Linked DNA regions of Homo sapiens: all the other regions are linked to region 5. Evidence: promoter capture Hi-C in 16 types of primary human blood cells and fetal thymus (Javierre and others, 2016). All regions are on one chromosome and are shown on one strand. Each heading gives the region's core, a stretch centred on a gene start or on the middle of the fragment in contact. The rest is flanking DNA. Distances are from core to core; before and after follow the strand shown.

The links. Contacts are between HindIII fragments. The CHiCAGO score rates a contact against its expected background, and 5 or more counts as called.
Region 1: a fragment that was not itself captured here is called in contact with the fragment with the promoter of SAMD12 in region 5 in 5 of 17 cell types (M0 macrophages, M2 macrophages, fetal thymus and 2 more); the score reaches 8.7 in M0 macrophages.
Region 2: a fragment that was not itself captured here is called in contact with the fragment with the promoter of SAMD12 in region 5 in 1 of 17 cell types (naive CD4 T cells); the score reaches 5.2 in naive CD4 T cells.
Region 3: a fragment that was not itself captured here is called in contact with the fragment with the promoter of SAMD12 in region 5 in 5 of 17 cell types (fetal thymus, activated CD4 T cells, naive CD4 T cells and 2 more); the score reaches 11.7 in fetal thymus.
Region 4: a contact is called between a fragment that was not itself captured here and the fragment with the promoter of SAMD12 in region 5, in 1 of 17 cell types (M0 macrophages). The highest score is 5.6, in M0 macrophages.
Region 6: the fragment with the promoter of UTP23 here is called in contact with the fragment with the promoter of SAMD12 in region 5 in 1 of 17 cell types (fetal thymus); the score reaches 5.0 in fetal thymus.
Region 7: a fragment that was not itself captured here is called in contact with the fragment with the promoter of SAMD12 in region 5 in 2 of 17 cell types (non-activated CD4 T cells and naive CD4 T cells); the score reaches 5.1 in non-activated CD4 T cells.

The regions. Positions count from the first base shown.
Region 1 is chr8:117,328,554-117,331,334 of GRCh38, reverse strand. All of the region lies in intron 4 of LOC105375716 (a long non-coding RNA gene), which reads left to right. Among named protein-coding and RNA genes, the nearest start is that of MED30, 190 kb to the left of the region's middle. The HindIII fragment of the contact is 907 bases long and covers 963-1,869 here.
Region 2 is chr8:119,637,299-119,640,149 of GRCh38, reverse strand. ENPP2 (ectonucleotide pyrophosphatase/phosphodiesterase 2) reads left to right here and starts at 1,311. Exons shown (of 25, transcript NM_001040092.3): 1 at 1,311-1,402; 2 at 1,623-1,725. The coding sequence starts at 1,370. RefSeq lists a silencer at 1,096-1,195. The HindIII fragment of the contact is 849 bases long and covers 946-1,794 here.
Region 3 is chr8:117,516,199-117,518,963 of GRCh38, reverse strand. All of the region lies in intron 2 of LOC105375716 (a long non-coding RNA gene), which reads left to right. Among named protein-coding and RNA genes, the nearest start is that of MED30, 3.1 kb to the left of the region's middle. The HindIII fragment of the contact is 5,785 bases long and covers 1-2,765 here.
Region 4 is chr8:117,463,581-117,466,664 of GRCh38, reverse strand. LOC105375716 (a long non-coding RNA gene) reads left to right here. Exons shown (of 7, transcript XR_928569.3): 3 at 758-995. Among named protein-coding and RNA genes, the nearest start is that of MED30, 56 kb to the left of the region's middle. The HindIII fragment of the contact is 1,975 bases long and covers 760-2,734 here.
Region 5 is chr8:118,620,713-118,623,690 of GRCh38, reverse strand. SAMD12 (sterile alpha motif domain containing 12) reads left to right here and starts at 1,728. Exons shown (of 4, transcript NM_207506.3): 1 at 1,728-1,887. The coding sequence starts at 1,875. SAMD12-AS1 (SAMD12 antisense RNA 1) reads right to left here and starts at 2,690. Exons shown (of 5, transcript NR_038210.1): 1 at 2,505-2,690; 2 at 2,036-2,156. RefSeq lists a silencer at 1,386-1,535 and enhancers at 1,636-1,835, 2,446-2,655, 2,686-2,735. The HindIII fragment of the contact is 1,953 bases long and covers 9-1,961 here.
Region 6 is chr8:116,765,130-116,768,278 of GRCh38, reverse strand. It overlaps UTP23 (UTP23 small subunit processome component), which reads right to left and starts at 1,755. Exons shown (of 3, transcript NM_032334.3): 1 at 1,488-1,755. The coding sequence starts at 1,675. It also overlaps a transcript of EIF3H not described here. RefSeq lists enhancers at 1,369-1,678, 1,689-1,838. The HindIII fragment of the contact is 9,967 bases long and covers 764-3,149 here.
Region 7 is chr8:117,443,612-117,446,420 of GRCh38, reverse strand. The region is part of intron 3 of LOC105375716 (a long non-coding RNA gene); the gene reads left to right. Among named protein-coding and RNA genes, the nearest start is that of MED30, 76 kb to the left of the region's middle. The HindIII fragment of the contact is 3,753 bases long and covers 1-2,809 here.

The sequences.
Region 1 (2,781 bases), core at 167-2,666, 1.3 Mb after region 5:
GTGCAGCCTTATTTCCCTGGCCTTTTGGTCCATCAGTCCAGCTGATGTTCTCTTTACCCAATGCTGCTGTGGGCTGTAATCTTTTGAGGCACGCTCAGGCTTTCCCTAAAAGCTTGCTACTCTGGGTAAAGTCAGCATGGCACCTGTCTGTGTTTTAAGTTTTTCTGAAATGCCTTTAAAATCCCCCACGTTCGGGGAAATGGAACACAAGCTACACACTATCCTCTATTCTTTGCCTGTTTCCTGACCGAGGCTTTGAGTCTTGAGGGTGGCAACTGTGTTTTCTTTATCTTTATAACTGAAAATCTAAGAACAGTGTCAGAACACATAAGCATTTGTCAAATGAATGTGCCAAACAATAAGAGAATGCTGGAGTAATTCTGAACAATGTCTTGCAAATTGTAAGAATTTGGACAAAACCATCAATTCATATTAAGATAAAAAAAAAAAGGAGAGTAACCATCTCAGAGTCAGCTCAATATAGAACAAGAGAAAAAAAATCCAATTTTGGACCTACTGTACTGTGTGGTTCCCTTCAGGTGCCAGCCACTCACAAATTGCCTCCTGTGACCCTGCCTGGGACCTATTCTTTAATCTCCGATGTCCATTACAGCAGACTTAAGAAAAAGGAAATGCTTACTGCCTTGTTAGGGAATGGATTAGGAAATTTCATGCACTTTATCAGAACCAGCAGAGATAAGTAGGTTGCAGGATAGTCTTTCAACACTTTTAAAAACACACCCAACAAGACCCCAGCACAACTGAATAGAAAGCTGATCTTACCATAGCATACATTTGCATTATCGATCCATTGGTGAAAATACTTTTGCAGCAAATTAAACCAAATGCTTCCTCCAAATACACAAGGTTTCAATTATCACTTTGTTTACATGTGTGTGCGTGTGTGTGTGTATGTGTGAGTGTGCACGTTCAAGCAGTTTTGCACAACTTGGACTTAAGCTTACGAGAAAAATCTCAGACTGGGTTTGAGAGAGCCTGTCTTTCTTCCCAGCTGTCGGCAGGGGGAGCTCATGCTTCATGCACAGCTGGGGCCTGTCTGCTTGCTGGAGACACAGACCAGATGAAGAAGGCTGAGGTGCCTCAAGAGAGGGGAGGAGATGCAGATTTGGGCGTGGGAGGGAGATTAAACAAAACTAAACAAAAACACATATTTCTTTCAAATGTCATCACTTTGGCCAACTGTCTTTTGGAAGATAGAAAATGTGGGCTGTCTAGAGTAAGTTCATAACTGCAACATGGGTTCCTTTCTATAATTTGTCTTCCACACATGAGAAAGCCTTTTTTCCGGGGAAGGTGCGTTTTTTTTGCTGGAGTTACACGATTTTCTGAACTGTGTGTTTGAGAAACTAGTATCCTTGTGACATTTACCAGTGATGTTCTAAGTATTGGCCTGGTAACTCTAACCGCATGTGCTAAAGAGGGTGCCAGACAGCTAAGAAAGCAGCATCAGCATTGGCTTTGGTGAAAACGGAGGCTTTGCCTGTGAGCAGTTTCAGGAGAGAGGGGTCAGACGGAGGCCTTCATCAGGCCCTGCCATGGGAAACGGAGCACAGCGTGCTACTATTGATGTTACTGGAAGAGTAGTCATGCATGTGCACATATGTTCACGTGTGCATCTCTGCATCTCTGCACATGTATGAGAATGTGTATGTGTGTGCGTACTGAGTGTGTGTGCTCTGAATCAGTGATTGAAGTCAGCTACAAATCCACAGCAGAAATTCTGCCAATCGCTTCGGCCCTATAAGAAAAAACAAGCAAAACATCACAAGCATGGAGATATTTTTTAAGAGAAAAAGCATCATTTTTTTTCATCATTTTTGATACAGTAAAACAAAAAGAATGAAAGCTTTTTAAAAGTGGCTTGCAGTATTGTTATTTTTTAAGTAGTGATAGTTTCTGTTGCCATGCATTCAAGGATTGATACCTAAATATTGACTAAAGTTTAGGATGAAGTTGCTCCTAATTCAGGTATTTTATTTTACTTACGTCTGTAGCTTCCTTTGAAAGCAGAGTTTGCTGACTTAATATATCTTTGGCCACACACACACACACACGAAAGGATGGTGGTAGAAGGGGATGTGAGGGAACACTCCTTGTGTTATTACCAAGGTTTTCGCCTACTGTGTGTCCATGCTCCCTGGGGCCCTGCCTGGTACAGTATGGTAACAGTTGGAGAGTAGTGCCATCTTGTGGCCACACTGGAAATTAAGTCTAGAAATTAACAGGTAGTGGACAAAATGCCCAATATTTGAAGTGTCTGGTCTGGGATTTCCAAGTAGTTGGGCAGAATCAATTGAGTTAGAATCCCCAAGGCTCTTTTATGCAGGGATGGGGTAGGGGGATCAGATCCCTCTCACTAATACCTGAGGCTAACTTTTCACTTATGCAGATTAGTTTAAATTTTTTGTTTGTTTAAAGACAGGGTCTCACTTTGTTGCCCAGGCAAGAGTGCAGTGGCATGATCATAGCTCACTGTAGCCTCCGACTCCTGGCCTCAAGTTATCCTCCCACCTCAGCCTCCTAAGTAGCTGGGGCTACAGGTGAGTGCCACTATGCACAGCTAAGTTTCTAATTTTTTATAGAGACAGGGTCTCACTATGTTGTCCAGGCTTTTCTTGAACTCCTGGCCTCAAGTAGTCCCCTTACCTTGTCATTAGGCTTTTAAAAGTCACCTTCCTTTCACTTAGTGTGAGTGAGCTTAAAATCCAGTCCTGGCAGAGTTTCTGATAAAAGGAGGAGACTGCTGGGAAATAGGGGAAG
Region 2 (2,851 bases), core at 121-2,620, 1.0 Mb before region 5:
AATTAGATATTACTAGATTCTAAGAATCTGTAATGAAACCCAGGCCTACTGTACAACCCCCTATAAACAAGTTTTTGCTTTTGTGCTATCATGTTTTATTTGAGCAGAGCCACTACTCTGTTACTAATTTGTTGCATGGTAAGTCTCGTATTTGTTTACGCACGAACACATGTGCTGCGGAAGAAAAGATGGTCACTGGACCTGCTGAGGAAGAGGCCAAAAACAAATCTTTTTCCCTCATTTGAATCCTGAAGGCATGTAATATTTAAACAACTTTCAGATTTAGAGCCCTTGATTTTTTCTTTTGAAAGTGTGCTGGTTGCCAAATTGCTTAGTAAAGAAACTTTAGTACCCACAATAGCCTCAAAGGACACAGTATTTGGTGGCTACATTTAACCAAGAAATAACTAGGGAAACAATTCTTGACATTTCAATTCTTGCTGCCATTGAGATTTCCTTCCTAAATTCAATTGCTAATAAAGCTTCCCATGCCATCCCCTTCCCCCACCCATCTGCCTCTCAAAAACCGCCCCCTCCTCCGCCCCGCCCGAAACAAGCTGACAGTCTTTACGGGAAGAAGAGGCAGAGACTGAAGTTATTTTGTCCGTCCTCCCAGGGCAGAAGGACTTTATGCTGCGTGGCTGGCATTTCCAGTATTTTGATAAAAGTTACTTCTCTAAACTTGAACCACAGCATGGGGAAAATAATGTTATCTTTTATGTTAGTTACAATTTTGCGAAATTTCATCATGAGAAACTTTCAAGGAGGCAGAAGTAGCTGAGAATGTGATACTAGGGACAGGGTCGCTCAAACTGCCAGCAAAATAAATAGATGGGAAAGACAGGAACGTTATTAGGTTTATAAATGATAAAACTTTCCTTGCTTAAAAAAATAAAGTGGTGAGGTTGACGCCATTGAATGACTGCATTGTAAACCTTAAAAGCTTAAAGCTGGTGGAAAGCCCTTGCACAGCCCTGTTTTCATTTTTATCGGATGAAATGCATTTGGTTTCTTTTTGACAAACCATGTTTTTGTGAGGAAAGGAAAATGAACATGCACTGTTATGGGCCACGGCAATGTAACAAACCCTCCTGTTGCCAGAGGATACCACATGAAAGTGTCTGTGGGTTAGGGGAGGGACCTGTAAGGGGGCGGGGATAAGGGGGATGATAGCTTAAGCCTCTTAGGCTCAGAGCTGCGATTTGTGAACACCCTGTGATGTAATCAAGCTCTGGACAAATCAGAGGAGTCTGTCAACCTCCCAGGTGGGATTGCTTATAGTTAATAGACTAAACCCAGAGCCTCAAAGCAGTGCACTCCGTGAAGGCAAAGAGAACACGCTGCAAAAGGCTTTCCAAGAATCCTCGACATGGCAAGGAGGAGCTCGTTCCAGTCGTGTCAGGTGGGAGAACGGAGGAATGACGGGGGACATGCTTGATCTTCAGAATCAGTGACTGATTGGCATTTTCCTTTTTGTTGTGCAAATTAAGATAGCACCTTATTATGCATTTTGGAAGTGGTAGGATTGGGTGTTGATATTGAAGCCATTTGAATCACCTTTGTGTAATTTGATTTAGTCTTCTCCAGCTGTATTTGACAACTTGGTCTCTTTATTCTCTTAGATAATATCCCTGTTCACTTTTGCCGTTGGAGTCAATATCTGCTTAGGATTCACTGCACATCGAATTAAGAGAGCAGAAGGATGGGAGGAAGGTCCTCCTACAGGTAAGTGTCAAAACTATTTGCATTTTCAATTTTTTAAAAATATTACATACGGGGTAATCAATGTAAGCTTATTAAAATATTTATTTTTAATACAATCTTGCAGTATAACTAAGTTAGTCCTAAATTTCTCTGGGTAAAACCACCTATGTGTATAATTCAGGTGGGAGAGTGTGGTTTTCATTAGAGAACATTTATGATTGTTTCATAACTGGCTATTTCCATTTTTGTACTCAAATTTGTAAATGTTAGGATACAATTAAAACTCTTGTTCACAGACAAGGCTAAAGTAGAAGTGGTGAGAACAGGTGTTGGTTTAATATTGGAGCTACCCAAATCTGATTTGCTGTCACATGATATAGGATGTAGTATTTGCCACTAGAAAGTTCTGATGTAGGAAAAAGGAATGGAAGTAAAAAAGGCAGTGAGCTATCTTTATGAAACTTCAGAAATTTAGGACTTTAAGATTTACTTAAAATTGGAAAAACATAAAAGAGAGGAGGTGTTTAAAGAGTTTTCAGGATTGATTTGTCCTCATTGTGTGTCCTTATGGCAAAGGAAAGGTAAGTTTTAATAGTGTACCTTGACTTAAATAATAGAACCAAAGTGAAAGAGTTTCTTTTTACAATACACTACACCATAAGTAGTGTTCCCATACAGTGTTCTTATAAAGGAGCTCCTTGTGCAGACAGAGGGGGCTTAACTGACCAGGTCTTAAGCAATGAGTTGGTTAATTTCCTGGAAATTGGAGCTGCTGATGGTTTTAGAAATAAAAAATTACATTTTAAGTAATGGGCACTCTAGGGAACAATATTTTCTGGACTTTTCCTGACATTCCAGCATGTTTGTCTGTCTTCCTGTGAATTTTGTGTTTCTCTGTATGTCTTGATCTGATTGTTATGAAAGACCATCACTTGCCTCTGTTTAGCCAGCTTGAAATTTTATTATCAACCGGGTTAGGACACATACATTGATGGAATACTAAATCTTCCTTACATCAATTAAGTTACTTTTGAATCATGCCAGTAGGTTGAAAGAATAATATTAGAAGTGAATTAGTGAATTGAAGTGGGGTGTGGCGGGGTTAAGAGTGAGAAAATAGATCACAAAACTTGCAGCCCCAGGGAGC
Region 3 (2,765 bases), core at 253-2,752, 1.1 Mb after region 5:
CTATTGTCTTCTCTCCCAAAGGGGAATGATGATGATGATCATGACCTGTGCAGAGAAAGGAGACAGAGGGTAACTTTGAATAAATATTTAGTAAGTAGAATCTAGAGAACTTGATAGTAACTGGATCAGGAACATTAAGGAGAGGAAAGAATTAAGGATGGCACGTATTTCTGCTTTCATGTGAAACTTCAGGTGAAGTTTATGTCATTTACCAAGACAGGATACACTGAAGAAAAAATAAGTTTCCGAGAAATTATGCCTTATGTTAATTTCCTATTGCACATGTAACAAATTACCACAAACTTTGTGGCTTAAAACAGCACACCTTTTATTATTTTATAGCTTTTTAGCTCAGAAGTCTGAAATTGTTCTCGCTGAACTACGCTCAAGGTGTTGGCGGGCTGTGTTCCCTTCTGGGGGCTCTCAGAAGGAATCTGTTTCCTTGTCTTTTCCAGATTTTAGAAGGCTGCCGCAATTGCTTGGCTCATGACCACTTCCACCAACTGCAAAAACCAGCTTTCATCCTTTTCAAAGCCAGAATTGGCTAGTTGAATATGCCATATCTCTGGTTCTGAGTCCTCTGCCTCTCTTTCATTTAAGTATCATTTTGATTACATCGGGTCCACCTAGATAATCCAGGATATCTTTTTATTTTAAGGTCAGCTGTTTTGCAGCTTCAGTTCCGTCTGCTACCTTAATCGCCCCTTGCCATGTAACATGACATACAGACTCTGGGAATTAGGATGTGGACATCTTCGGGGAGTAACTAAAATCTGCCTACCACATGCCGCCAATCCAAACTGTCCCTAAATTCAAACTCACATACCTAAAAACCTGACATCTTGACTTGGATGGCTATTTGGCATCTAAAACTTATGTCTAAGAAAACCCAACTCTTGATCCCTCCCAACCTTCTTTACCACACTTTTCCCATGTCATTGTCTGGCACCACCATGCATTTAGTTGCCCATCCTGGCTTCTCTCTTTCCCACCCTACTTCCAAGTCATCAGAAAATAGAATGAACTCTGACTTTCAAATATATCCTATATGTGACCAATTACTTCACCCCTTTCAACCTAGTCCAAGCTGTCTTCTCTTATTTAGAATGCTGGATAACAATCAAGAGTCTCCTAATTGAACTCCCTTCCTGCTACACTTGCCCCATCCAGTCCACACTCATTACAGCACCCACAGGCAAACTTACAAGCTAAGTCAGGTTATGATTCTCCCCTGCTCTCCTGTCCTCTCATCGTGCTTAGAATAAAATCCAAAGCTGCATGACCTGCACACCTCCACATGTGCTGGCCTAGGCTGTTCCTGCTCTCTCAGTTCCCACAGCTCTCCCCTCACTCCAGATACATACACCTCCTTACTATTCCTTGTGCACTCCAAGTTCATCTCACTTCAGACTCATTTATTTTGGCCTGGGAAGCTCTTCTCTCAGCTATCTCTCCAGGCTTTGTTTACAGTGGCCTTTTCTGGCCACCCTACTTAAAATAGCCTGCATCAGGCTGGGTGCTGTGGCTCACACCTGTAACCCCAGCACTTTGGGAGGCCGAGGCGGGTGGATCACGAGGTCAGGAGATCGAGACCATCCTGGCTAACATGGTGAAACCCTGTCTTTACTAAAAAATACAAAAAAATTAGCTGGGCATGGTGGCGGGCGCCTGTAGTCCCAGCTACTCGGGAGGCCGAGGCAGGAGAATGGCGTGAACCTGGGAGGTGGAGCATGCAGTGAGCCGAGATCGCACCACTGCACTCCAGCCTGGGCGACTGAGCAAGACTCTGTCTCAAAAAAAAAAAAAAAGAAAAAAAATAGCCTGCATTAGTCTTCTGTTGCTGCTGGAAAAAAATATCAGAATTTAGTGGCTTAAAGCAGCAGAAATTTATGTCCCCATTTTCTTACTGATTGTAAACTGACAGCCATTCCTAGCTTCTATGAGATGCCACATTCCTTGGCTTGTGGTCCCTTCCTCCATCTTCAAAGCCAGCTATGGCAGGCAAGTCTCTCTCATGCTTTAAATTTCTCCTGCATCTTATTCCATTGTCCTTGTCACATACCTCTAACCTTTCACTTTTGAGGGCCTATGTGATGATACTGGGTTCATCTACGTTATTCTAGATAAACTCCCCACCTCGAGACCCTTAACCTTAACCACGCCTGTAAAATTCCCTGTTTCATGTAATGCAACATAGTCATAGCTTCTAGGGATTAGAGGGTTTGCATCTTTGTGGGGCCATTATTCCACCTACAGTACAGCCCTCTCCATCTCTCTGTCCATTTAGCCTGCTTCATTTTTTGTAGTGTTTCTCTCAAACTGATGTTGTTTCTTTCACTGTTTGTCCCTTCAGCTAAACAGTAAATCTCATGAAATTAGAGATTGTTTCTATTGGTTACTTCAGTAGATTCAGCACCTACAGCAGTGCCTGGCACATAATAAGTGCTCAATAAATAGTTGATGAAAGAACCAGGAGTTTACTCGGGGGCATCTTGGGTTTGAAATGTGTGCATGATCATCAGTGGATATATCCAGTAAGCAATTGAGTGTGTGCTGGGACCTGGTAGGGTTTTCCTTTTACATGGTTAGAGAAAGGTGGGTGGGTGTGATAGTAAGCTCAAAATCCATGGAGTCAGATAGTCCTGGACTAAAATCCAAACCTGGCATTACTCAACAGTGGACAGATGACACCAACCTCCATCAATAACAATGGTATTTAGCTTTGGGATTGTTGATAGGATTAAGTGAGATGCTATATATAACAC
Region 4 (3,084 bases), core at 498-2,997, 1.2 Mb after region 5:
GGTGCTAATTTCTTTATCTGCAATAGCTCAATCCCCATAGCACACTAGAATAGAAGCCCCATGAAAGCTAGGATTTTTCTACATATTGCTCTTTGCAGCATTTCCCAGTGCCTATGATGGTGATTGGCAGTTTATAGGCCCTTAATAAATATTTGCTAAGTAAGTAAATGAATTAGGTAGGTCTGGTTGTTTCAATTTTGCAGTTGAGGGAACTAGGAAATAGAAAGGTTAATTACTTTGCCTATTCACAAAGGCAATAACGAAAGATATCTGGATTTGTACACAATCAAGGATCTTGAACAACACGTTAAGTTGCCTTCCATTTTGAATCATATTGGATGAAGCAAACTTTTTTTAGAATTTTAATATTCCCACATACTATCCTCATTATGTGAAGAGATTCTGAAGTATTAGAATCAAGTTTATTAAAGTACTTAAAGAGTATTGATGTCTGTTTAACATGAGTTTGATTATGCAGAATGGGAAGCCATTACCAAGCTATCCAGGCCCTTCTTTTAGAAACAACCAGCAAATATAAGCCCTATTTTTTTTCTCTTTAAACCATGTACCATGAGCAAGCATCCCTTTGATTGCCATATGCTGTGTTGTGCTCACTGTGCATGTACTTTTTTTGTTTTCCTATTTCAGTCCCTCAAGATATCTTTGCCTTCCTCTCTTAACTTGTGCCAGTATTAATTATGATCTTTTCTCCTTCTTTTATCTTACTTCTGCCTCTGTCTCAACTACTGAATCCAAGCTTTCATCCAGCTTTTAAGGGAAACTAATATCTCATGAAATTGTGAGGGCCTGGAATCTTCAAAGAGCCAAGGATTCTGCCAGACTGAGCAATAGACTTGATGAGCATTCTCCACTTAAGATCTGAACTATGAGAAGTCGAATCAAAGCAGTTCTTTTGTAATTCCAAACAGCCATTTAGACATATGAAGAAATGAAAGTAAAGCAGTTCTAAAGACAAGGAAGAGGGTCAATGAAAGGTAAGAAATCCTGACAAAACAAGAAGAAAAGTATTTCCTTTGGTCATGGTGGGCTTGTTTCTAATGAGGAAGACTTGGGATTCTGAATATTATGTATAGCTTATTGAATAGTTATGTTTAGGTTAATTCTATAGTAAACTATATTAGTTCTCATTCTTGCATGTGAGTTCGATTCTCAAACAATCCTTGTTAATCTTAATAAAGGTACATTAGAGAACCTCTTCAGGAATTGTTGTACACAAAGATCTTTAAGAGGCTTGCCTCCAACAAGCTGCTGAAGTGAAGACACTTATAATTAGACCAGTGGGCGAAATAAATAGTATTCTTACAGATTTCTGTGTAAGAAAATCTTATTTCTATCTGGATGTATTTGGAAGTTCTATGGGCTACTTAAGACTTCCTTAGTCCTCTGCCTCTGAGTCTCTGAAAACAGACTCAGGCTTATTGGCTTAACACTGCTTTCCTGTAAACTTTTATTATGGAAATGCCTCTCATTCCTAAATATTATTATTGTGACTCTCATCTAATAAAGTTTTACAACGACAGGTCTTGGATCTTCTAGAAGAGAAAAAAATCTGTTTAATTCTCAAAAGTATATTGTTTCTTCCCAGTTACCGGAGTAGAATTTATAAAGTTTATAATTTGTGTGTCTCTGTGCTTCAATCCTCAGTTACCGAATGATCTCAGAAAAGAGTAAATTGCATTTCTAATTCGGAAATTTCAGACTGGTTAAATGCCTAGAGCTGTATTGAATGCTATCATATGACTTCTTCTCATGATTCTCTGATACAATTCAATGGCAATTTTTGCCCACTTACAATGGAAGTGGTATCATGCAGACTTGACAGAAGGGTGGTAGTTCAGAGTCTGATATCAGGTTTACCATGTATCTTTAGATAAGTGAATTAACCTCTCTGAGTCTATGCTTCTGTATTTAAAAATGAACACTTTGGGACAGGTAGCATTCATTTACTTCTTCAAACATTTATTGCATTCCTTCTGTGTTCTAGCTACTGCAGTTTTTGCTTGAGTTACAACATTGCACAAGATAGTGTTCCTGTCTTCATGGGCCATAGTGTAGATGACAAAGATAAACAACCAGACAATTATAAAACAGTGAAATAAACAATACCAGTGAAAGCATAAGTTCCAAGATAATGGGCTGTCAACTTTATCCATCCTCTAGATAGATTGTCAATTATTTGCATTTCTTTGAATTTGTCATGCAGACTTCATTGCCTCCATGTCTTTAAACATGTTCCCTCTGCCTAGAATAGTGTTTACCATGTTCTTTACCTAGCTAATGTCTACTTAGTCCTTAAGGTTCAGATCAAGTATTACTTCTCAGGGAAACCTTCGTTAACTCTTTGAGTCTGGTTTGTGTGGCCCTCCTTGAGTGCCTCTGGCCCTTATATGCATTCTTCAACAACAGTAGCTTGATTTTATTTGCTTACCAGTACTATTGTTAGGATGTAAACTCATACAGTGCAGGAATCCCATCTTTTATTTCTTTATTCCCAGAACATGGTCTAATGTTCGGTATACAGCAAATGTTCTATAAATATTTGTGGATTATTTGAATATCAAACATTTATTGAACACTTACTATGTGCCAGGTACTAAGACGGGATTCACTTTCATCACCTTATTTGCTTTAATTTTTACAATGCTCTTTATTACGGTGTGTATAGTATTCCTATCCCCCTTTAGAGATGGAGAAATGGAGATTCACAGAAGCTTGGTAATTTTCTCAAGGTTACATAGATGGACAAACCCAGAGTTTGAAGTTGGTTTTCCAGAGGATTTCCTCTTTATTCGAATACTACACTGTAAATCATGGGTTTTGTTGTTTTAACATATGTGTGTATGTGTGTGTGTGTTTACATGCATGTTCAAGGGGAAGTGGTTGTAAAGATGATCACCTTCTCTAAGAGGACATTCAAGGCTAATGGTTTTTGTGCCATATTTGTATAAACTGGTGTAAATCTACCCTTGGGTATTTTGGCTCATTAGTGGGAGAAACATTGAGCTTCTTCAAGTGAACAGATGTCTATGCATAGTTATATCTTTGAAGCAAGGTTATGGTAGG
Region 5 (2,978 bases), core at 479-2,978:
TAAAAGCTTAGGAATATATATTTGTAGAAGGCTGATGCACAGCCAAGGTTGAGAACCATTGATACTACCTGTCCTATGGCTTTCTTTCACATTCATTCAATCTCAGAAAATACTTAACACTTTGGTGATTTTATATACATAAAGTAGTGAAGCACCTGGATTTCAGTTCTTTCCAGAGTTTAGAATGCTTGGCTGTGTATTAGGTCGGAAAATTCTTTTTCCCATGGAAATTATGTCTCACTGAATGGGTCTCTCTCTACTGTACCTAAAAGAGAGGCTTAGGTTTGACTTGTACACAGCTCCATGGACTCAGAATTAAAGTATCAACAAGAGCATTTAATGGTTACACGCAGGTATTTTTTAAAGTACCTATACACATATTATTATTATATATTACCCAGTAGGGGAACTAAGCATGTAATTAGTGACCAGAACAACAGGTGTGCATGTATACACTGAGAAACGAAATTGTTTTGAAAAACATTTTTTTTTTTTTGCTGATGACCAAGACACACAAAAATGTCTAAGTAGTCATCATGGGAAGAATCCGATTTTTGTACTTCCTCATTTTACAGAGATTAACATTATATATGAGTGACTGGGTGGATGTGGTACCAAATACATTTGTAAACTGAAGGCCTTTAAAAGTCAATCCAGTCTTGAGCCAGATTTATTCCCGAGGCTATTCCCTTACCCCTTCCAGCCACAACTGTATCCGTATTTTCACACGCAGGAAAAAATGTTTAGAAACTTAATTTTTACGAGCTGTCGAATTGTATTGCTATCCACGTGATTCCCATTATCATGTCTGCTTATAGCATCCCCAGCACCTACAGCTAGGACATAGGTTCAGAAGTTGAAGGAACCTGATTCTCAGGCACTGTTAATTATTAGGCCCTATCACAGGCTGTCAACAGGCTCCAAGTCTAGGCAAATTGAAAGCCTCCTATCCTGGAAGCCAGACAGGCTTTCATCTGACCTCCTCCGGTGCAATCCTGGCTCCCAGACTTTGTTCCTAACAACCCCTTGGGGACGTTGCCTATTGGGGTTTAAGCCACTCCTCCTCCCCTACACCCCCATGCCAAGTATTTAGCCACCTGAACCACCCTGTAGGATAAGACAACTGTATCAACCGTCGGAATTCCCCCACAAAACCCATACATCTCAGGGTGCGAAGGAACAAGTTTCAACCTCACCCTGGGCAGCGTTCTCTGGCCCAGGTGGAGAACCACACAGGAGGACAGTGGTCCTGCTCTCCCTACTAAATGGTGGTTCAGGAGGCCAGGGGGCGGGGCGGTACCGGCGGCAGAGGCCCACGGACGAGCTCGCAGGAGCTCATCACACAGCTGACCGTCACCTGCCCACCTCACCACACCTGCTAGGTGCCAAACCCCTTGTAATGGACAGGGAAGGGCTCAATCACGGGTCCCTACTCTTAGCAGCGAACCTATCTCAGCGCACGGCCTCCTGGGAGATGTAGTCCAGACCGCTTCCCGGGAACCCCCCCCCCCTCCCCCCCCGCCCCGCCACAACCAGGCATCCCTGGTCCCCTCACAACTTCCCCAGGAGAGATTGCTCGGCCTGGCCAGCTGAAGCTGGAGTTGCTCTCCAAGTGTCGGGGCCAGGCGGCACTCCGCGGAGGAGTCGGGGTGCTCTCCCCAGTCCGAGCGAAGGGAGGGAACTACACTTCCCAGGACGCCCTGCGCGCGCCGAGCCGGGAGCCGGCTGCCTCGCTTTGCGTGACCGCGGCAGGTTGGTCCTGGAGCAGATAAGCGCAGAATATTTAGGCGAAAGCGAGAGGAAGGGGGGAGCGCGGGGCAGGAGGAGTACCTCGGCCAAGAAAATTATGCATGCGTTAGGGAAGCTCTGAGAGAATGGCTGTGGAAGGTAAGGGACGCTTGGGGCATTTTTAAGCTCCCTCTTAACCCGCGCACCCCAAGGCACACATCCCCGATGAAGCTTGGCGATCGTGGGGAGGCGAGGAAAGGGGGTGGCGGAGAGCGGGCCCCTTCCTCCTCCACCTCTTGGCACTCACCTGCGCCGCCAAGGCCAGTAGGCGCTTTAATTCAGTTGCTTTGGAGAGACGTGAAGGGTAGGTGCGTAGGACTTTGAGGTAGGAGGTGTGGAGACGAGTGTCCCTGATGCGAAACGATATCCTGGAAATGGGGGGAAAGCCGGAGGATCCGGCATGAGGTTTTGGCCCCGAGATGCCCTTTTTCCCTGCCCCCTCCCTCCGGAGCAGGCTGGGTGGCCCCGGGGCTGGGGATGCTTGGTTGGCCCCCCTCACGTGGGAGAGGTCCCCAGCCCAGGTGCGTCATCCGGAAGCTTGGACTGGGATTGGGTCGAGGGCCCTTCGTCCTATGCACCCAGCAGCGGCGGCCGCAGATGTACCCAGAGGGTAGAGGTGTCCCTACACCTGTCTCTGCTTATACAGCCAGCGCCCCGGGCTTAGCAAAGTTTACAGACATGAAATGTAATCAGCCAGGGAAAAGAAGTGCAACAACCTCTTCGATTTGGGTGAATCCTTTTCTTTGAAGATCACTTTCTTCTTACAGTCTTGAGCTTCGGCTTTGCAGTTTTGACCGTAAAGTCCTGCCTCCCTTGAACTTCCTGGTTGAAAGCAGGGTCAGGCTGTTCGTGAGGGATCCTGAGTTTTTCATTTCAGGTTATCTTACCTTGGAACACAAACTTCCTTGTTTAGGTAGTTTCTGAAGAAGAAAAAAAAACTGTGGACCGGAAGGGTTTGTGATGTCACATTAGAGGTCAAGCTGTGCCTGAATGATGAAATGATTGTGGGACGAAATGGGAGCCTACATTCACCTGCAGAATTTTGGTTTCTGAGTGCAGTCAGGTCAGAGGGCGTACTGAAGTAGGAAGAGGAGGGCTTGCCTGCCAGCTGCTTCAGGCGCCTTGCCAAGGGGAAATCAGCCTATTCCTTGTAGGCTAGAGACGAGAAGGCCACGAGGCTGGCTTGCTGC
Region 6 (3,149 bases), core at 506-3,005, 1.9 Mb after region 5:
AAGCAATCAATTCAGGAGCAAAGACTACTGAAGGATTTGTTAGACAGCCCTAAAGACTAAGGGGATCAAAACTTTGGGGGTATCTGTAACCCAGCCGAGACCCTGCTTGAGAAATTCTGAACAAATACAGATAGCTGTTCATTAAGTAATCGTATGTGAGGAAAAGGAGACTATTAACACAGTATACACAGAAAAAGCCCATACTTTGTTATGGCTGTAGTTAGAGATGGGGGTTTCCTACGTTGCTCAGGCTCACCTCAAACTCCTAGACTCAGGCAACCCTCCTGTCTCAGCCTCCTGTGTAGCTACTAGGATTACAAGTGTGAGCCACCTTGCCTGGCTTAAAAGTCCATTCTTGTGCTTGTGTGAGTGTGTATAAAGAACTGGATGGATGACACTGCACATGTTAACAGTGATTATTCGTGAGTAGTGGTATTATGAGTCATTTTAATTTTCTTTTTTTGCTTTTTAAAAGTAAATATTCTACAATGAAAAAACTACTAAATTTCTTAATAGTTCTTCATGGCCTAGCCTCAATTTGCCTTCTTCCTAGTTTCACTCCCAAATATATTCTGTGCTGCAACCTCTTTCCCAGGCATTTCATAACTCCATTTCGTGTGAAGAGGTCTCCACAACAAGAAGTGTCATTCTTTTCTGTCATTCAAAATAGTTCTTCCTCTCAGAACTGAACAAGTGAATGGGCTCAAATGTTATCTGAAATCTGTCACAATTCTCTCCTCTCTCCTCTTCATCCCGACAAGCTTCCATCCTAAGTGTTCCCACATTTCAATGAAGTGGGGAAACATCAGACCTAGAGTGAAAACACACACTGCAGACTGACTTATGCACTTTACTGGCCATGAGGGAGCAGTATGTGGCATATAGGAGGTACTTAATAAAGCGAGTTGAATAAACAAATGTGCTTGGGCAGATTCCTTAATCTCAAGTACTGACTTTTTGCCCTGGACATCAAAGATGGTAACTCACAGGTTCACTGTGAGGCTTGCAGAGTTTTGGTTTAAACTAAGAAAAGCTATGCAAATGACAGCAACCATTTGAAGACGGGTACACTTTGGATACCGAAAAATGCTCTAGTACACTATACTCGTTTGAGCTTACAGCAATCTTCTAAGCAGTTATCATCTTTATTTTACAAATGAGGAATCCGAGGCTCAGAGAGGCTAAATAACTTGACAGAAATCACAGAGCTGGTAGAACTGGGATCAAGATTCGAAGTCGGATCTCTCTGCTATAATGTGCTCTCATTCGCCAGGCTAACGACACGTGATATTCACAGGGCACTGTCCAATCTGCCTCTATTATAGGTATTCGCCTGACCACCTTCACCTCTCCACTTAACTGTCAACTCCACGTGGGCGGGGCGTTTTGCACCTCCTGAGCTCGCAATGAAGGTCTGTGAGCAACGGCCTCGCCTCTACAACACCCGACGGACCCTCTGTGCCTCCTCCCCAGCCCCCCGGGCCCACCTTGTGGTGCACAGCTGCGTCTCCCCCATGAGGTAGCGGGGCAGCTGCTCCCGCAGCTGGATGCGGCCCCGCAGCGCCGCCTGACAGAAGGTGCCGTCCAGCAGGATCTGGTACGGCTCGCGGACTCCGAAGTTGTTGCGGAAGAAGCCAAGATGCTTCTTGGCATGTTTCTGCCTTGTGATCTTCATGCCTGGCTTACCGGGACCGAGGCCACCGGACCAGGAAGCATCAGTAAACGCCTCACGCACGCCCCAGTACCCTCAATGCCAGTTTCACCCGGAAATGAAGCGCCTTTGGCCACGGAAGCAAACGCCTCTGTCTTCCGGGCCTGCCCATTGGTTTACGTCATGTCCAGACCAGCGCGCGCTTCCACCGCAGTGCCCGCGCTTAAAGGGGCGGTCCCTTAGGGCGGAACTTGTGCGTACGCTGGAAAACCGCTGGGGTGCGCGATTCCGCACGGGGGCGCACATGCGCAGTCTGGGGCCACGGTAAAAGAAAATTACGAGAATACATTTAGCGTGTTACCTACGTTTTAGAGGCGCGTAGCAAGAGCTTCTCTGAAAGACTGGCAGTATAGTAGTAGTCAGTGATAATATTGAGCCTTAATATGTTCCAGACACTGTCCTAAGTGATTTACCTTACATTATTCCCCTGAATGTTTATAATTCCCAAGTGAAAGAAGGAAATGATATATTGGATAGCTATGAGTGGGGAGGTTTGTACTGGCTGCTTTCCCATAAAGAAATTAAGCACGTTCACGAAGGGCACGTAGTTTGTTAGTGTCTGGAACCCAGTTTTCGTGCCTGAAGTTCAAATGTTCTTGCTACACCACCATAGAAACTAACGTCACTCAGGAACCATTTGTCAGGGCAAAGGGTGCCACCATTTTGCATTTCCTCCTGCCTTAGGACCATCCTAAATCACTCGCATGGAGTGTTTTGGAAGAACTCTCAAGAGCTTCGTTTGCCTAGAGTCAGAATTCCTAACCTTGAGTCCTGGTTTTGCCACAAACCCAAGCCGTTTGATCTTGGGCAACTCCCGAAGAAAGCTGGGTTCAACTTCCTCACTGTCAAACTGGTTGTAGGTCTAGATAAGTTTCAAGTACTCTTTTTATGTGCATGGTCTCTGACATAGGAAGACTACATACTGGGCCAGTAACAGGAAGGCACAAAGCTGACTGGAGGTTTAAAAATTACTTGGTCAATTTGATTAATGAGGAGAATGAATCAGAAAATTTCAAGTTCTCCCGTGGCTAACTGTCGAGTATCCACTTCAAGGTAAAATAATCAAAGAATGGGGAGTATGGAATTTTGCATTTTTGTCCTTGCCTGGAATCTGTCCCAGATCTAGTTTTGGCTAAAGATTGAAAGAACCAGCACAGAAAATGATTTACAACGTGATTGAATGCATTGTTTGCATTTGGGGTTTTATTTCAATATGTAGGTTTATGAAATTGGAATAAGATCTATAATGTTAGCCCTGATCTGAGTCCCAGCACATCACTTAGATGGTTGCTTTCATTTAAACTTAAAATGAATTTAGGAATTGGAAGCCATGAAAACTTTTGCAGGGTTGGATTCAAGGTCTTTGAGTGTAATTGCTCAGTACTTTTCAATTTGAATCCTCTTTTTATCCCTGTATGCCAACTCTCTACTCCAACTA
Region 7 (2,809 bases), core at 55-2,554, 1.2 Mb after region 5:
GGCTAATTTATAGTTTGGAGATGATATATACCTACCTCCAAGAGTTGTTTTGAGAATAAAATAAATAATGTATGTGGAGGTAACTTGCACATAATAAATAAACATTTTTTTGGAAACAAAGTAAATTCTAACATTAACGTAGCACTATAGAATCTGTAAAATGCATTTGCAAGTTTTATCTCATTTGTTTACTATAACAATAGAAGATGGTACAGATAAAAGAGAGCCTTATTATGCAAGGGTAATTTAATTATTCACTACAAAAAATTCACTTAAAGCTGCAACAAAAATTTCATAGTATATAAGGGAAAAAGGATTCAATTGAGAATTTACCTTTAAAAAGTAAAGGTAATAAAAATAATATATTTTTCATAAATGTAATAATTTTGGTTATAATGACAATAAGACATGTTTACTGAAAATAATGGAGTCCTTTTTTTAAAAAAAAACATGATTTCTGGCAAAACTATAAATGAGAACATAATGCAATGTCCTTTTATGTTATTAACTTTCAAAGAATCCTCAAAGGTCACTTTTGAGAAACATTCAAGGTTTAATCAGCTTTCCCAAAGATTTTTATTGTTATTTTGATACTCAAATCATTTTCTTTAAAATTCCTGCCCTGTCACCAACCTTACCTTTTCTCTCTTCTGTGGTTTTGAGATGCTAACTAGGCCAGATCCTTCCATGTCCGTTGCTTTGTGTGTGACTTTGCACTATTCTCTAGCACTCCTCTCATTCATCGCTTGAGAGTCTGAAACTTTTCTGAGATTTACAGTTTTGCTTGCCAAAGGATTTGCAAGATATTTATAGACTAATGATCCAAGGCATTGATTTGATGGTTAGAGATAAATACAAATCTTAAAAGAGAAGGGATGCAGAGAGCAGACTAATTTCATAAATGAGCAACTCATTAGAGCATTAGAGGATATTTTCATGTTATGATGGCTTTTGATTTCTTGTGCAGTCTCATTATGCTGCAGACTCAGATAATAAAATTGAGATAATGAGGAACCTCTGTATTATTACTATCTTCGTTTTATAGATAATTAAAATGCAGCTCAGAGAAGTTTAGTGACTTAAGGCAACACAGCAAGTAAATACTGTCTCTTAATCCATGCTCTTTATGCACAGAAGATAAATTTGGGATTAAGGGTGAAATTATTTTCTTTTGGTTGCAATTTAAATTTATGCTTTACTGTAATAAGAAAGAGTCTTTTCAAAGGACTCATTACTTTGAATAAATGTTAGGATTTCTGAGTAGTCTCAGGTCGCAGGCTAAAGTCTTTTCTTCTGCACTTGATTTTGATCTCCGTAGGAAATTATTGCAGGTCCTATGTCTGAGAATTCCTTCTCAAGTAGAATGAATGGAATAATGGAATGAGTTTAGAACTAAGAATGAGGATTTATGGGTTCTAGGCTTAGCTCTGATGTTGACAAATTTTCAAAAATCAAGTATAACCTTGGACAAGGAGCTTTCTCAGTTTCAGTTTCCTTAACTCTAAGATAAAGGTTCTGAGCTCATTGTTCACCAAAGCCCTTTGTATGTCAAGATTCCTTATGTCTACCTACTACTTGCACTCCACTACAGACCAGACAGGTGGTCTTATGCTGCTATGCATTTGAACTGTGAGGTCTGGCACAAATGGAGTTTGACTGCAGCTCTATGCTTTCCCTCTCCCTGTAATTTTCCTTTTCCCTTTCTTTAAACCTAAAGTTCTTCAGCAGCCAGTATATTGGTAAGAGTGTGACCTCAAAAGTCAGACATACCTGAGTGCAAACCCCAGCCATATGATTAGAAAATTTGCTGAGTTTTAGGCTTCTTATTTCTACAGTTAGATTATTAGACAAATACTGGATACTACTAAGGATGAAATCTATTAATATATGTGAAATAATTGGTACATAGGAAAAACTTAGTAAACACCAGCTTCCTTGCTTTCCTTCCACCTTCTCCAAACACAAAAGCTGTAAAACATATTTGCTGTAGAGCCACCACACTTCTTTTACCAGGAGAACACAGAGATGCAAATGGTTAAGAAAAAAATAATTAAAATGGATTAAGATATCGCTTTCAAGCAATGCTTACTTAAAAGACCGAATTTTGAAGCTATCAGTTGTATGTGCATTCACTTGGAAGTCCCTGAACAAAGCACTAATATAATCATGTCTAAGTCAGCATCTTCTAGTGACCTGGAACGTCAGGTCATTGCTTGGCTTTCTTGCTAATCTCTGAAAGCTCAGTGTTTTATTGCCAAAAACAATGCAAAGGATCAGCTCTTCCTTTTAAAGATTTTCTTAGTGTTTTACTATCTCATTTCTTTCAGAGAAGCCAAGCTGAGAATTGCCTTAGGTGGACTGAATATATGTCCTGTTGGCTAATGTTCCTGTCTTCTTCTAGAGTTTCTTCTAGAACTCAGTTCTTATTCTATCTATCTATCTATCTATCTATCTATCTGTCTATCTATCTATCTAATCTATCTTCATCAACAACAACATCATCTATCTATTATCTATGTTTTTCATCTATCCTGTGGAAACACTGATATCAAATATATTTTTCTTGATTTGAGACCTGTGTAGAATACTGAGAAATAGGTTTCCAGGGTGAAAAGCGAATCAGTTGCTTTTGTCATTTAATTTATTTATCTTATAAAGTATCTTAATTACATTTTCTTTAATAAGACAAGTCCCTACCATGTGTAGTAGCACATTATTTCTTTTGAAGAGATTCAAACAAAATTCTTCCTATCTTCAAAGCTCAAATTTTAGTTATTCAGAAAATGTCAGTGTGTCTAGCAGAAGGAAT